Linked DNA regions of Homo sapiens: all the other regions are linked to region 2. Evidence: promoter capture Hi-C in 16 types of primary human blood cells and fetal thymus (Javierre and others, 2016). All regions are on one chromosome and are shown on one strand. Each heading gives the region's core, a stretch centred on a gene start or on the middle of the fragment in contact. The rest is flanking DNA. Distances are from core to core; before and after follow the strand shown. Region 1 has its middle 150 kb from the start of LZTS1. Region 2 holds the start of FGF17 (fibroblast growth factor 17). Region 3 has its middle 120 kb from the start of SNORD3F.

Region 1 (3,484 bases), core at 235-2,734, 1.6 Mb after region 2:
GGGTTACTTTACCTCTCTGAGCCTCAGTGTTCTTCCTTATAAAATTGGGGTGATACGTTACACTTCCCTGGGTTGGGGCTCATTGGTGATTATTGCACCAAATTTCTGAGCCTCATTCATGAGGCCCCTGAATTCTTTTCTTCTCAGGAGCTTCTGAGGAAGGCTCAGCCTTGGGTAAAGTCAGAGTATTCCGTATCTTCCAGCCCAGAATTTGATGGGTGTCTTCCTGGTCTGTCCTGATGTCTGTGATGTCAGCAGTGCCAGCCTGTTGCAGCCGTACAATGTGTCTGATGTTCTGTCCCTGCCCAGATGTGCAACCTTGGGAACCCCTTAAGGCTCTTCCCTCTCCTCCTTCAAACAGGAGTCTCCGGCCAGGTCTTTGGGAATCTTCCAGCTCTCACATCCACATGCTAAGACTGGGGAAAGATGACCAGGCATGGTGGCTCAGGTCTACAACCCCAGCATTTGGGAAGGCCAAGGCAGGAGGATCGCTTGAACCCAGGAGTTCAAGACCAGCCTAGGCAACATAGTGAGACCCCATCTCTATAAAAAATAGAAAAAAGGCTGGGTGTGGTGGCTCATGCCTGTAATCCCAGCATTTTGGGAGGCCGAGGCTGGTAGATCACGAGGTCAAGAGATCGAGACCATCCTGGCCAACATGGTGAAACCTCATCTCTACTAAAAATATAAAAATTAGCCAGGCATGGTGGCAGGCACCTGTAGTCCCAGCTACTCAGGAGGCTGAAGCAGGAGAATCACTTGAACCTGGAAGGCGGAGGTTGCAGTGAGCCGAGATTGTGCCATCGCACTCCAGCCTGGCGACAGAGTGAGACTCCGTCTCAAAAAAAAAAAAAGGAAAAAATCAGGCAGATGTGGTGGTGCATGCCTGTAGTCTCACCTTCTCAGGAGGCTGAGGTGAGAGGATCACTTGAGCTTGTAAGGTCGAGGTTGCAGTAAGCCATGATTATGCTACTGCACTCCAGTCAGGGTGATAGACTGAAACCCTGTCTCAGAATAACAAAGAGAGAGAAAGAGAGGCTGGGGGCAGAGGGGGTGGGGAGCCAGCACCAGTGGCTTTCTTCTATCTTCTCTTTAAAAGCAACTGCTCCTGGGAGAAGTGACACATTCATCTCTTAAAGTATGTTTTAACGTCTTCTGTGGCAACTGCCTTTCAATCTTGCTACCTTGAGATGTTCCCACCAAACGGGGAGAGAGAGAGGAGGACAGCAACCTAAAAGATAAAACTGTAGGCCATCAGATCAAATCATTAAAGGGATCATGCGAATTAGCCCATCTTCATCACTTTCCTCAAACGCTTGTCAGCAACAAATATTTAATGAGCACCTGCTAAGTACAAGCTACTTTGCAAGGTACAAAAGAGGCCCCCTGTCTTCAGAAAGCTTGTATTCAGGATAGAACAACAGGATTCATTTTCATGAAAAAAAGCTGAAAACATAGAGCTTGATGCCTCTGGGGTGAACAAGGAGACAGAGGGTGGTGTGAGCTTAGCACCCGGGCTGAGGAGTGCAGCTTTGTCTGCCAGCTCTCCACACCCCGAGCAAGCTTCTATCGTGTGTCCTCGCCTTTCCCCAGGACCTGAGAGGACCTCGCAGCCCACTCTGCCTTCAGCTTCTGTCCAGCCCCCTCTAAAGGCCCCCACAAGGAAGTGCACACAATACAGGTTAGATCTTTCACTCCCTTCTGAATATAGCTTCTCACTTGCTATAGAAAAGGCTCCAAACTCATTGGCAATGGGATGGTCCAGAAATCCTCCTCTCTCTCGGAACTAACCTGCCCACGAGCATGTTCCGTTCACACTCTTCTATCAGCCTTGGAAAGCATCTTCCCCACTCTCCCCAGCCTCCTTCTCCTCCTCTTCTTACTTATAAAAATCTAGCTCACCCTCGAGGCACAATGTAAATGACATGGATGTGGGGAGGCCACGTCGTACCTGACTGTGTGTCCAGGGCTCTTGCTATCACACAGGGTATGCTCTGTGGATCAGGAGCACTGGCGGACATCAGGGCTTGTCAGGAATATAGAGTCTCAGGCCTTGCCCCATAACCACTGAAACACACTCTGTTTTAACAAAATTCGTGGCTGCGTCTGATGGCTCACGCCTGTAATCCCAGCACTCTGGGAGGCCAAGGTGGAAGGATTGCTTGAGATTAGGAGTTCAAGACCAGCCTGCCCAACATGGTGAAACTCCATCTCTCCTAAAAATACAACAACAAATAAAAACCTAGCTGGGCATGGTGGCATGCACCTGTAGTCCCAGCTACTTGGGAGGCTGAGACAGGAGAATCACTTGAACCCAGGAGCCAGAGGCTGCAGTCAGCCGAGATCATGCCATTGCACTTCAGCCTGGATGACAGAGCAACTCTGTCTCAAAAAAAAAAAAAAAAAAAAAAATCCATGAGTGCTTCACATGCAAAATAAAGTACGACAAGTTCTGTCTAGAGAATGCCTTGTACACAGTGCCTCACGCATTGTAGTCATTCAGGAGGTGTTTGTTGAGTGAATAAGTGAGTGAATCCAGGAAAGATCATCAAAGCCCAGTCATGGTTTCACCCACAGCCAGTCCTGAAACCCAGAGATGCTTCTTAGCTGTTTAAATAGAGTTATCGACACAACCCAAGAACCTCCCACACTCTCCTCTCACTTTATTTCTCCACTTCCTCCTCCAGAATCAGGCACCTCCCACCTCCCATGGACAGCCACATCCCAAGCTCAAAAATGTAATTAGAAAAAGTAGTTTTTACAGCAGCTCATCTATAACCCACCCTATAGCCCTGCCTTTGTGGAAGGAGGCAGTCCATCAGGGGGTGTGAGTGATGGGCCAACCAGCAGACCAAGGCAGGGAGGAAGCCCTGCTCCCATCCGTCATCCCTTCTCCCTCGATCACCCTGCAGACCGCACAGCAACGCAGAAATGGCCCCCTCCAGGCCTGCAGGCGGCTGGCGGCTCTTCATCAACCTCAGCACTGCTTCTCCCACACACATCACCTCATGCTCTTTGTAACTTCCAGCAGAAGAGCCTTCCGTAAAGACTGCTGGGAAAATCCCAGGGAGAGAGGCCTGCCATCCGGCGTAACAAGGAAGGCAGGTTACCTCTTAACCATTGATCCCCCTCACTCTCGTCCCACCCCAAACACCTGGGAAACCCCATAGATGGGCAGTCAGCCTTACCCTACAGCAAACGCCAATCACCCTCTGAAAATAAGGCACTGACTTGTGGACTGTCAAAAAGTCTCATGAAGACCACTCTCACTCCAAGCTCCATTTTCCATACATCAGCCAAGGACTCATGCTACACATTTTGAGGAATATAAACAACAACAAAAAGCAATATATTATTTATGTTACTTTGACTTCGTGTAATGTTTTGCTCCCATCAAATTGTTTTCATATCCATTATCTCTTGAGTCAGGCAGACAGGAACTGTTATCACCATTTCACAGATGGAGAACCTGAGATGCAGAGAG
Region 2 (3,766 bases), core at 8-2,507:
AAAAGGCCTGGAACGGGGCTGGAGCAAAAGGGGGAAGGAAGGGGGGGGGAATTGTCTCTCCCTCTCCCACCCCCCCACTGCTTCAAAGGCTGCCCCTTTCCCTCTCCCAGAGAAAAGGCATTTACCTTCAAAAAAAGTCCCCACTGGATATGAAGAGAAGCGGGCCTCTGGCCTGGGAAAGCCAAGCGATCTCTCCCCAGAGCGGTTCTGGACCAGTGCATTTTAATAGCTGCACTTTTATGGAGGATCACAAAAAAGGGAGCAAGCCTCGCACTGGGGGCTGAGACTTGGGGGTGGGAGGTGTGCATGGAGGGAGGTGGGGGGCCGACTTGGGGTGGGGGGAGTGTGGAGAAGCGAACCCTGCATCCCGTCCCAAACAAACCTCTTTGGGCTTGACCTCTGTGCCCTCTAGGTGAGGAGTCACCTCACCCTGGCCAGGCATTCTGGACATGCTCACGAGACCCCCACCCCAGGCATCCATATTGATGGGAGTGGGGTGGCGAGAAGGACATACAAGTGGTCTTGCATCAAAACCTGTCCTTTCAGGTACTGGCAAACCCAAGCCTCACCTGAGCCATCACCTCCACCTGCTTCCAACCGCTCCAGGCTCCATCCCTCAAGTCTGGGGGAACCCGATGGAGAGGGAGGAAGAGGAGCAGAGACCCAGGGGAAGTGGGGAGGGTCCTCAGAGGGAGGACAGAGACAAAACCTCAGTCAGCCCCCTTCCCTGCCCACCCGGTCAAAGGCTCACTCCCCTCCAAACCTCAGTGCCTCCTGGACCCAGGGAGAGGCCAGACTCTGCCTCTGTCCACCTGAAAGGAGCCGGTCCCTTGCACCCGCCCTGGTCAGGTAGGGTGGAAAAATTGGGGGAAAGCCGGTGGGAATGCCCGCCTACCTGAGTTTGACAGCAGAGAATCAGCAGCTGTAAGCACCTGTGTGGGGAGAGGAGGTAAGCCCAGGTGTGGGTGCCAGCTGCAAGCCTAGGGTGCACCCAGGCCCCCGCCCCCGCCCTGCCAGCCCCGTGCACGCACGCGTGGGAGTCCCGGGAAGAGGAGGGCTGCCCTGAGGCTGGAAATGGCAACGAAACTCCAGTGGGAGAGGTAGCACACTTACAGAGTGAGGTTGGGCAGCAGGCGGGCGGCTCCCATCGCTGGAGAGGTTCCTCAGGCGGTTGCCCCCCTGCCCCCAAGCTCAGGAGCAGATGTGGGAAGTCCCCAGGGGTAGAGTCCCAGAGAAGCCAAGGTCTCTCCGAGCCACAGGTTTTCAGGGGGGCGAGGAGGAGAGAAAGGGGAGGAGGAGGAGAGAAAAGAGGGAGGAGGAGGGGGAGGAGGAGGGCGTAATTGGGAGACTGAGGTATGAGGTGTCCACCTTCCTGGCCAGTGAGGCTGCAAAGCAGATGCGGGTGGGGGCGTGCGCGCTGTGCCCTCTGGGCTGCCAGTCTCTCCTGGGCCACCCAGTGCAGGGATGGAGCGGTGGGGGCCTTCTGAAGGAGGTGGCCCTGCTGTCTCCTGCTCTATTCCTGACCCTCACAGACTGGCCAAACTCGACGCAGACAAACTCGATGTGTGGCAGGTCAGGGAGGGGGAGCCCTTCCAGGTCTGCGTCTCCTGCACTCAGGTCTGGCGCCCCACCTCCCCAAGGGTGAGCCGCAGGTGTCAAGTGGGGCTGGGGTCTCTGGTTCTGGCTCTGGAGTGGAAATTCCCAGAAGCAGCCTTAAAAGGAGCCGCCTCCCTCCAGGGGGCAGGGGTGGGCTTGGCTTGGAGCAGCTGATTGCCCGGGAAGGAGGGGTTAAGGCTGTCCTGATCGGCAGCAAATACTGGGCGCAACAGGTTGGGGGTCAGAGGTGGGTTGGCAGGTACAGATGGAGATCTAGGAAGAATCCCAATGGAGAGTTGCAAAAGCTAGCCTGAGACAGACACTTGGAGAAGAGCTGGGTGTCCTGGCCTAAGCCCCTTTTCCTTGGGCCTCTGTAGTTCCATCTGAGAAATGAGGACAGTAATGCCTCAGGGTGTTGGGGGGTCAAGTGTGAAATCAGCACATAGCAGACTTCAAGATGTCTGTGTTCTGAGACCCAGCTCCACTCACCATTCTGCATCCCCTTCCTTCCAGTGCCTGTCCCTAGAGCCTCTCTGAGCTAGGAGCAGCTCGGAGTCCCCTCCCTGTGTCCCATGTCCCTGAGCAGCTGCCTGGGATGAAGTGCCTACCAGCCTCTTCCCATGACCTCCGGTCTCATACTGCTCGGTACAATGCCAGCGACTAGCCCATTTTGCAGATGAGGAAACTGAGGCACATTGGGAGGTAGTTTGCTCAGAATGGCCCAGCTAGTGAATGGAATAGCCAGAATGGAAAAGTCCATGCTTCTTCTGTTCTGCATGGATTGAGTTGCCACCCTGCAGATCCAGCCCCAAACCTGCTTCATTGTAGGGATACAGAAGCCTTCCTGGGTTTTCAGGATTAAAGGTGGAATCCGAGGTCCTGGAGACCGGTGAACAGAGAGCTCCATGCTGTTCCCTCCCTACAGAAAAGTGGATGACGGTGACTGCAGAAGATAGGAGGGCTTGGGGGTCTCTGAGGGAAGACCCAGTGTGAGCAAGCAGAGCTCAGGCCTCAGCTCTGGGCTCCCTGGAGTTCTCAGCGCCCCCAGGGTGGGAAGGGAAGGGGAAGTGGCGGATGTGGATTTATTTACCTAAAGAGATGACCAGGGGAGCGAAACTCTCACCTGTGGGTCCCTTCTCACCTTCCTGAGCTCCATCAATCCACAAAGTGGTCTGCCACCCCTGCCCCCATGCACTGACCAGTGCAGGCAGCTCCGGGGTCTCCTCTCCGCAGGCTCTTCCTCGGGAACCCAGCCCAGGAGTGGGTGCTGCCTGAGCTTGTGTGGGGAGGATGGGGCAAGCCCTGGCCTTGCTTACCTGGGGGAGTCCAGGGTTTTGGAATGCAACTCAAAGAATGTCAAACCTAGAAGGGGTCTTAGGGATTCATCATTTGTTCCAACTTCCTCATTCCTTGGATGAGAGCCAGAGAGGGCAAGGGACTCGCCCAAAGCCTCACAGCTAGCTGGTGGCATGGCTGGGACAAGGTACCAGGTGCCCGCGTGCCCACCTCTCTGCTTTCCCCCTGCGGATCCTTCAGGTCACTTCTGTTCCGCGTTCTTCCCATCATCTGCAGTCTGGGTTACACTCTGCCTCTTCTGGCAGCTCTGGCTCATTCCCTGAGAAACCTTCAACCTCACATCCACATCCTCACCACTCCCAGCCCCCAGGCAGGGCATTAAAGAGAGCACAGACACGTGGAGGGGACAGCTCAGGCCTTGGGTTGGTGGAGGTGTCAGCTGGGGGGCGAAAGGTGGGTAACGGTTCCAATTTATGCTGTCGGGACTCACTGGCCATGGGGACAGTGGGAGCCACTCAAGGCCTCTGAGCCCAAGCACCTGTTTCTATCCATGGGGACAGGGCCTGCCATCACTGGCCCAGCCCTCAGGCCAGCCTGGGTCTCCATGGTAACAGATGCCAGCAGTCAAGCTGGGCCTCGGGGCTTAGCCAGGGGGTTAGCTCTGGGCATGGCTGGATGGCCTGTGTCACAGGCAAGACAGCTGTGGCTCCTTGTCCCTTCCTGTTGGGCACCTGCAGGCCTGGCCTTCTAACTTGGTTTGCTCCTTTACGCCCATGGGGAAGCCAGTGGTGGGCCCCAAGTGGGGAGGCAGCATGGAGCCCTTGATTTTATCCCCGCCCCTTTGCCCTGGTCCTTATACGCTGTGTGACCTGTG
Region 3 (3,586 bases), core at 436-2,935, 1.5 Mb after region 2:
TATCCTCATTTTACAGAAAAAGAAAGGAAGACCAGAGGGATTGCAGTATTTCCCTCAATCACTCAGTTTTGGGGCAACAAAGCTTGTACTAAGGCCCCCTCCAGAGTCTTCTCTATGTACAACATGGAGACATCCCAGGCAGGTGGTACACAGAAGGCACACAGGCCAGGAATAAGGCCCAGGCCAGTGTCCTGGGCACCTGCTGCCACCGACCAGCCACAGGGTCTCACGGACCACCTCGGAGTTTGAGTTTCTAATATGTAAAATCAGTGTTGGGCCTTCGCTCTCCATGTGTTATAAGTTTCTTAAGGAGGTTAAGGCCTATCTGAAAGAGCCAAAGGGGTTAAAACCTGCAAAATGTGGGGTGGGAGCACGTGCATCCCAGCAGGAGAGATTAGCAGTCCTGGAGGGGGGGGATCTGGTGGGGGAGGGATAAGGCAAGTGGAGTTGTGAAGATGCTGAGGTTTTAGACTTAAGACCTTAAACAAGTCAGATGGAGATGGGGTCTCCATTTGTGTCAAGTAGGGCAACCAGGGCTGGTGACATAGGACACAGTGCAGGCAGCTTCACTCTGGGGACTTTGGCTTCATGGCAGTGGCTCAGGAAAGACTCTGGACCCCAGGAGGTCACAGCCCCAGGAGCTGGCTGGGATCGTGGAGACTGTCTGATGTGAGCACACAATGGAGGAATGTGCCCCCCGGAGCCCACATGCACTCATTTCTCTTCTCTACAAGTCTTTGGCTGCTGGAAGAACCCAGGTGCAGAGAGTTGGCCAACCCTTAACCTCTTGGGCTCAAGCAATCCTCCCACCTCAGCCTTGTGAATAGCTGGGAATACAGGCACGTGTCACCACACCAAGCTATTTTTTTAACATTTTTTTATAGAGATGAGGGGTCTCACTATGTTGTCCAGGCTTGTCTCGAACTCCTGGGCTCAAGTGCTCTTTATACCTTAGCCTCCCAAAGTGCTGATTAGAGGCATAAGCCACCATGCTGGCCAACTCAGCTTTTCAAGTAGTTCCTCTTATCTTTTGTTATGTAACTGTTCACACCCTGTTCCTTTAGGGTTTTGTTAAAGGCCAACCATCTAACCCCAAGTCAGTGGTTCTCTCTGAACATTTAATCCCTAAAAACAACAACATCACATTCAACTCACAAAAGGCCCAACTGCATTATGGTAACCAGGGTTGAAATTCACCTCAGCAGACTTCCAAAACTCACATGGCTGGGATCTAAGTAGGCAAATGCCTGTATTATATGTCTCTGTGATGGTAAATGGGGCTAAGTCACCAGAGTCCAGGAGCCTCACACTTCTGCCAGGAGCCATGGAGCGACATGGCTGCTCTCCTCTCACCCTTCCCTTCAGGGGCCCCAACAGGCTTCCCAGGCCTCAGCGGATAGACGTGAACTTTCCAGCCCCTGGGCTGAGGTGTCTCAAGGGACTTCTTGAATTACAGACCCAGACACCAAGAAGCCTCCCCTTCTCCATTTGGGTGTGCTGTGGCAAAAAGAGAACAATTCCCTCCTTTCCACCTCCAAGCTTGTTTTTAGCTCTCTCTCTCTCCTAGCACCTAACTCATCAGCATACAGAGTAGTTTTGATAGAACCCCTATAAGGCTTTCTCTCCAAAGAGGGATTTTAATACCCTTCTCAGTGACATTTTATATGATAACAGTATGTAAGTTTGACAGGAAGCTGTTTTCCAAGAGTTAAAGTCCAAACAGTCCCACAGATCAGACTGATAATGGCTTTCCTGATCATTATTAAATTCCCTGTGATTAGAAAATGGGCCGGTGCTATTGATTTAAGCTCTTTGAGTTAAGCTAAGCTTTAGAGGGCTTTCACAAGGCACAAAAAGGGCATTTGAGACTGTATTTTACCTTCCCAATTAAAGTAGTTTTCAGAGTACAAACAGCAGACAGCCAGACATTAGGCAGGCGTTCCAGAAAGAAAGGTGGAAGCATTTGTCCAGAACATGGAACCAGAAGACAAGCCCCATCACAGCCAAGACAAGCCCCATCACAGCCAATGCTGCAAAGTGCAGACAGAGGTTGAGGCTCAAATTCCCTAAGAAAAAAGGCTTCCTACTCCCAACAGTGCCTGGGTCAATGACACTTTGAATTCAACCTCAAAGCATCTATAGGTGATAAGAATTTCCAGTCCTAGAATTTTGAGTTTCAAGGATTTCAATTTCAATTTCAAGGATTTTTTCATGTGGTCTTTCAATCATGGTCAAGCTGTCTATACAAATTTTGCATCAAGAAATTATCGCCAAATCTCCAAAGGCTAAAGATTCCAGATTACTTTTTCAGCTTAATAAGTGAGAAAAGAATGAAGGCAACGGTGTTTCTATTACAATCTAAAGCTCTAGAGAAAACAAGGATCCCTAGAGGAAAATCTTGAGCAATTGCAGGGTCTTAAGTGCTTTGTGTCTTTCTGAAGGAAAGACACTTGAGGTTTTTAGGTGCGCCTGCAGTGCCTATTTGTTGCCCAGACAATAAGCAGTTTGAGCGACTGTGCTCAGGCCCCTGAGCATTTCTTCTCTTGACTGCCTGTCTTCTAATCCGCCCCAACCCCAGGAGAGCTTTTCTGAAACCAGTTGCTTCCTCTCCAGCTGGGAGGTCTTGGTGCCCAATGTCTTTGATTCTGCCCACAAGGGGCTCAGCATCCAAGCTAGGAGCCTTGTCATACGCATCCTGTCACTGTTTTTTTTCTTTTTTCAAACCATGATCAAAAGTAAGAAACTTATTTTTAAACCACAACCCAGCCTGTGACAGGCATTTAAGACAAAAACGAAAGTTTCAGCAAATAATACTCATGCGTACTAGGGGCATTTTGATGTCACAGCCCGCAAAATTGATGTTATGGTTCCAACAGGTGTCAGCCTGCAAAATGAAAACTGCTCGGTGTTATCAAGGATCACAAACATTCCTTTAAAATGTATTTATTTAGCAATTACTTAGAGAGCACAGGGCATGTGCCTGTGTTAACTGTTGTATGGGGACAGGGAAGAATATGGAAGTCTCTCCCCTCAAGCAGCTCACAATTGACATGGAGAGGCATAACTGATATGTAGGAAGATGTAAATAGCAATGCCTAAGAGATTGGTGTTCAGATGGAGCATGGGTCTGTGCAGTAGAGATACCAGGAGGGAGAGGTGGGGAGGGGCCTGCACACTGAGGAGGTTGGGAAAGCTGCAAGGCAACTGTTATCATCCTTGGGGGAGCTGTAACTCCTGCACCTTACTATCCCTTGCAGGTACATGTGCATCACAGGCTTTCAATAATTGTGCATTGAATGGCTCTCTGGTTAGATCATATTAAGGTTGTGAAGGAATCCAATCGCCAATGCTTGTTGAGCAAACTAAAGTATGCCTGGGTCTGTGCTGGGAGTTTAACCTAGTTATCATATTTACTCCTCGTGACAAGCTAGTGTAGTAGTTGCTATTGTCCCATATTTAATGGTGAGGAAATTGACCCTGAGACATGTTCAATGGCTTACCCAAGGTCGCGCAACTTAAGTAAGGTGAGGATCTAAGACTTAAACCTAGACTTTTAAATCCAAAGCACTTGCTCCTTCCACTCCCT

What was found. Contacts are between HindIII fragments. The CHiCAGO score rates a contact against its expected background, and 5 or more counts as called.
Region 1: a contact is called between a fragment that was not itself captured here and the fragment with the promoter of FGF17 in region 2, in 4 of 17 cell types (total CD4 T cells, naive CD8 T cells, non-activated CD4 T cells and 1 more). The highest score is 8.6, in total CD4 T cells.
Region 3: a contact is called between a fragment that was not itself captured here and the fragment with the promoter of FGF17 in region 2, in 4 of 17 cell types (naive CD8 T cells, non-activated CD4 T cells, naive CD4 T cells and 1 more). The highest score is 7.0, in naive CD8 T cells.

Annotation. Positions count from the first base shown.
Region 1 is chr8:20,452,166-20,455,649 of GRCh38, reverse strand. No RefSeq gene overlaps it. Among named protein-coding and RNA genes, the nearest start is that of LZTS1, 150 kb to the right of the region's middle. The HindIII fragment of the contact is 163 bases long and covers 1,403-1,565 here.
Region 2 is chr8:22,040,311-22,044,076 of GRCh38, reverse strand. It overlaps FGF17 (fibroblast growth factor 17), which reads right to left and starts at 1,257. Exons shown (of 5, transcript NM_003867.4): 1 at 1,114-1,257; 2 at 896-932. The coding sequence starts at 1,148. RefSeq lists an enhancer at 1-499. The HindIII fragment of the contact is 13,376 bases long and covers 1-3,766 here.
Region 3 is chr8:20,492,532-20,496,117 of GRCh38, reverse strand. No RefSeq gene overlaps it. Among named protein-coding and RNA genes, the nearest start is that of SNORD3F, 120 kb to the left of the region's middle. RefSeq lists an enhancer at 2,224-2,762. The HindIII fragment of the contact is 288 bases long and covers 1,542-1,829 here.